Regions from separate parts of the Homo sapiens genome. Here region 1 is linked to region 2. Evidence: promoter capture Hi-C in 16 types of primary human blood cells and fetal thymus (Javierre and others, 2016). All regions are on one chromosome and are shown on one strand. The core of a region is centred on a gene start or on the middle of the fragment in contact, and the rest is flanking DNA. Distances in the headings are between cores, read along the strand shown.

What was found. Contacts are between HindIII fragments. The CHiCAGO score rates a contact against its expected background, and 5 or more counts as called.
Region 1: a fragment that was not itself captured here is called in contact with the fragment with the promoter of DEFB134 in region 2 in 6 of 17 cell types (neutrophils, M2 macrophages, M0 macrophages and 3 more); the score reaches 6.0 in neutrophils.

The regions. Positions count from the first base shown.
Region 1 is chr8:11,731,146-11,733,845 of GRCh38, reverse strand. All of the region lies in intron 2 of GATA4 (GATA binding protein 4), which reads right to left. Among named protein-coding and RNA genes, the nearest start is that of SNORA99, 27 kb to the right of the region's middle. The HindIII fragment of the contact is 1,336 bases long and covers 725-2,060 here.
Region 2 is chr8:11,999,374-12,002,073 of GRCh38, reverse strand. DEFB134 (defensin beta 134) reads left to right here and starts at 1,322. Exons shown (of 3, transcript NM_001302695.2): 1 at 1,322-1,366. It also overlaps the pseudogene OR7E160P and the pseudogene LOC100421446. The HindIII fragment of the contact is 7,293 bases long and covers 1-2,700 here.

The sequences.
Region 1 (2,700 bases), core at 143-2,642, 270 kb after region 2:
TCTCATAGCCAAGCCTGTGTCATCGGGGTGGTGGAAATAATCCTCACCAGAAATGGGCTCCCTCAGTACAGGAAAGAACAGAGCAGTGTGCTGAACACACGTGGGATCATACCATGGATACTCCTCTGCAGCTGTTTCTGCAGGGACGCATATCTGTTTAGACATTTTTCCATATCAGCACAGATCTACTTCTCTCTTCGAAGAGGATTTATTAGTTTGGCATTGTTAAGGCACATAACACTTACATTCTACTCCATAATTCTCACAGCTGTTTAGCTGTACATGATATTTGAAAGGATTCAATGCTAATGCCAATCTTTTTATGCCACAGCCTCCCCATTCCTAATACCTTGGCTGCATTTCAGCAAGTAATTTTTCACTGCTACACACAACAGGGCTGCAATGAACATCACTGCTTTAGCTTCCGTGCCAGTGTGTCTCTAGTTTGTTTTGATTTCTGATAAGGCAAGTTCCCCTTTCTTAAGTCTCCTTTTAAAAAATTATCTTGGCTATTCTTGTACAATAACTCTTTCATATAAATTTTATAATCAGCTGGACACGTTGTATTTAAGAAATCTTGCTGGGATGTTTCCTGAGACTGTGTTAAATTTATAGATTTGTTTGAGGGAGTTTGGAATAAAGAATGCTGCCAACTTTTCCAATCCAAGGATCTAGTATCTTTCTCCATTTATTCATGTCTTCTTTTATGCCCTTCAGTAAAGCTTTATAGCTCCCTCCACAGGGAATTTACATTTGTTTAGTGAAGTTGACCAGTATTTTATCTGCAAATAATGAAAACATTGCCGCTTTCTTTCCTATCTCATTCATTTTATTAACAAGGAAATTTACTCCTGGCAACCCTAACCCACATGTGATGGTATTTGGAGGTTGGGCATTTGGGAGGCGAACAGGCAGGAGAGCTGAGAGGTATGGACCAGCTCTCGAAGTCTTTCCCTCCATGTGGTCTGGATTTATATTATATTCGGCAGTTTTCTATAGTTGGGGATATGAGTTATCTCTTAATTTCACTGCAGATAAAAGTTTTACTTGATTTGGGGGGTTCTTTTCATCTGATGTGCTGGTCTTCGGGGAGGAAAGGGAGAAAGCAAACCTTTACTCTGCTAGCCTTCGCAGGAAGTCTCTACCTCCTCTTCAGACCAGACACACATCCTCCTCAAATTCCGTCGGCTCCTCTTCCTCTAGCCTCCAGACTCGGGTTCACCTGACGTGTTCATGAATCTTTATGGCAATCAATCACATCTATCTTGAATTATCTATTTTATCCTTGTTTTGCAATAGCAGTTAGTTTTTTGGTGTTACTTCACGTTTTCTTCCCAACCTCTCTCCTTCTGTTTTGTTTTGTTGCTCTAGCCTCAGAATTCTTTAGCCAAGCAAATCAAACATTTACAAATCAAATATAAAGTAGATGAAACGGAGCTTCTCTGCAATAGGGGCCCCACAGACCCTGCTCTCAGCCTTCCTCCCATCTAAAGCACCTGCACTGAAATCAGTGCCCCTGGAGAATAGTTCGATGACAATACGTCTAGTAGTTCCATCTGCCTTTTTACAAATACATTTCACTTACTTGGCAGACATCTTAGGTAGAGCATGAAGCTGCTACAAAATCTACAGTCTTTTATTACACATGGTTAATAGCTTTAATCCAATCTGATTTGCATTCCAAAGAAATTTTAAAAGTGCATCCACTCCTATATTTTATGAATGTGACTTAAAATTTTAATGCAGATTATAAATATGATAGATTTGCAGATCAAAACTCGGTTGCTTGTAGTACAACATTTAAAAATCACCATTTTCCACCTCCTCACCAAGGATAACCTTCTCCTTAGTGATCAGCCCTGCTGTGATAGCAGGATAACACTGAGGCTTGGGCAAAGAGAAACACTGAAGAGCCAGAAAGGCAATCTTGTAGAACCAATTCTGGATGGCTAGTTCTACCTAATCGTCCATCAATGCTACTTACACCTTTGGCCAAAGAAGCAAATAGAATGAAGTGTTAGGAAAAAGGTTTTCACAATTTACTTTCTACTTACTAAGCTTGTACACTGCCTCTCCATTTTTCTCTTCTTTAAATTGTGATAAAATACATATAAAATTAGCCATCTTAACCATTTTTAAGTGTACAGTTCAGTGATAGTAAATGTGTTCACACTGTTGTGAAACTAATCTCTACAACTGTTTTCATCGTGCAAAACTGAAACTCTGCACCCATTAAACTCTAACTCCCCATCCTCCCGCACCCCGATCCTGGCCCCACCACCTGGCAACCCCTCTTCTGCTTTCTGTCGTCATGAATTTGACGGCTCTGGGGGCCCCACAGAAGTGGGATCATAGAGTGTTTGTCCTTTGGTGACTGGCTTGTTTCACTTAGCGTAATGTCTTCAGGATTCATCTGTTGTAGCAGTGCAAGACTTCCTTTTTAAGGCTGAGTAATACTCCACTGAGCACACAGACCACATTTGTTCATTCATTCATCCACGGATGGACACCTAGGCTACTTCCACCTTTTGGATATTGTGTCTCTCTCTTTTAATCAATAATGCGCTCATTTTTACAAGAAAATAAACATTGGGAATAAATGTAAACTCAAAATACATCAATCAAATGTGGATCACTGTGGTTTTGCTGATCCAGCCAGGAAACTCCTCAAAACCGGGTCTTCATAAGACTCAGTCTTCC
Region 2 (2,700 bases), core at 73-2,572:
CTCATTGTTGCTGTGGAAGCTGGTACCAAGTGTTTCTGATGCCTTGGCCCTTTGCGTCCCAAGACGTCTGTGAAAGAAAAGAAAGAAAGAAAAGAAAGAGAGAGAGAGAGAGAAAGAAAGAAAGAAAGAAAGAAAGAAAGAAAGAAAGAAAGAAAGAAAGAAAGAAAGAAAGAGAAAGAAAAAGAAAGAGAGAGAGAAAGAAAGAAAGAAAAAGAAAGAGAGAGAGAAAGAAAGAAAGATTCTTTAGCTTTTTCAGTGTCACTTCCTTACCATAGGTTCTAGCTCCCCAGGCCCTGGCATCTACTAATTCTTCCTGGCTGGCCCAGACTAGATTCAAAGTAGAATTTTTGCTATATTTCAGAACCCCTTTGTCCCAGGAGACAATATAGAAGAGTGGTTAATTAATTTGGGTTCTAGAATCTCTGTAAGACTTATCAGTCCCAGATGTGTGATTTTAGAAGAATTACTCAAATCTCTGCTTCAACATCTTGAAAATGTGAATTGTGAAAATGTCTAGTTAAGAGATCATTTGTAAGATTAAGTGAGGCAATATTAAAAAAAATACATACTACAATCCTTGATGCCTAAAAGTGCTCCAAATACCAGCTGTTAGGAATATATCTGCAGTAGTTCCCCACCCAGCCACAGTTCTAGTTACTTACAGTCAACCACAGTCCAAAATATTAAATACGCTGGGTGCAGTGGCTCATGCCTGTAATCCCAGCGCTTTGGGAGACCAAGGTGGGTGGATCACCTGAGGGCAGGGGTTCGAGACCAGCCTGGCCAACATGGTGAAACCCCGTCTCTACTAAAAATACTAAAATCAGCCAGGTGTGGTGGCAGGTGCCTGTAATCTCAGCTACTCAGGAGGCTGAGGCAGGAGAATCACTTGAACCTGGGAGGCAGAGGTTGCAGTGAGCCAAGATCACGCCACTGCACTCCAGCCTGGGTGACAGAGCAAGCCTCCATCTCAAAATAAATAAATAAATAAACACAAAATTCCATAAATAAACAATTCATAAGTTTTAAATTGCATGCTGTTCTGAGTAACACAAAATCTTGCACTACGCAGCTCCACACACCCAGAATGTGAATCATCCCTTTGTCCAGTGTATCCACACTGTAAACACTACCTGCCCATTAGTTATTGAAATCATATGCTTCTGAGATCCAGCCACTAACATCACCATGGCTCAGTGACCCAGCATCACCCGAAGGAGATGATCCCCCTTCTGAGCTATGGTCAGAAGATTAGCAATAGCCTAATGCTATGTCACAATGCCTATGTCGTTTTCCTCACTTCCTCTCATCACATAGGCATTATATCATCTTACATCAGCACAAGAAGAAGAGTGAGCATAGCACAGTAAGATATTTTGGGGGAGACAGAGTTCACATTCACATAACTTTTATAGTATTGTTATGATAGCATATTGTTATAATTGTTTTATTATTAGTTATTGTTATTAAAATCTTACTGTGCCAAATTTATAAATTTAACTTTATCATAGGTCTGCATGTATAGAAAAAAAGCACTGTATATATAGAGTTCAGTATTATCGACTGTTTCAAGCATCTACTGGGGGTCTTGGAACATAGCCCCATGAATAAGGAATAACTACTATATATTGTAAAGTTAAAGTATAAACCTAATATCTAGAGTTCATTTATTTATTCAACAAATATACCTTTGGCACTGATGGCCTGCTAGACTTTCAGCCCAATACTGGTGTAAAATGATAAATAAGACAGTCATGGAATCTACTCGGATTTCACAGTCTAATCAGAGACACAAATAATTGATATAGTAACAATTGTGACAAGTGCTATGAAAAAAAAAGGAATGGGTGCTGTAAAATTTGTAATGGGAAAGAGGACCATCTCTTCACAGAGGATACAGAAGCTGCTTCCTTCTGCATCTCCCACTGTTGGCTAGAATACATTTCTGTTTATTAGGATTGTCATTTGGAAAGGCTGCATATTGAATCTGTATGGCTCAGGGTCAGACAGGGACATTTCAATTGCAGCTGAGAGTATGGCAGTTGCAGAACAACCACAGATCAGGAAGATGAGAAGAGTAGCATGATGACCCTAAAGAAATACCAAACCCAGGAGGCAGAAGAAAGAGCCATCTAGTCCTAGCGTGGAGCATATTGTACTTCTCCATTTTCTAATCCCAGAGCACCATGTGGCCTTAGGGGAATATATGGATGAAAAGAAAAAGCTGGTGTGCTGGTAAGCCACATACTTGTTTTCAAATGATGCGCACATCTCCCCTCTTTATCTCTAAAGTCTATGAACTAGGTCAGCTCCCAACTCGTGGCACCTACAGTGAACCAGACGCTGAGCCAGGGGAGGTCTAGATAACAAGAGACGATCTCTGACAGTTGCTGAAATTCTTCTTTACCTTTTAGAGCAAAACTCAGAGGCTGTCCTGTTCTGATATTTAAGTAAAATCACGAATTGCTGGTAGTTGGTGACCTAGTCAGTGAACGAGCTCCTTATCAATAGTGGGAGAATGATAGTAATAGTCCGTTCTGGGGAAAAGAATTTGGCACTGTAATGGTCTTGGGGTTTTTTAACTTTGGCTTTGTAAGCAACATTATTTTTGCTTGGGTTAAAGCCTCTTCCAGCTGTTTATCAACATAGATAAAAGTATATTGCTTTATTATTTCTCCTTGAGTCATATTCAACACTTTC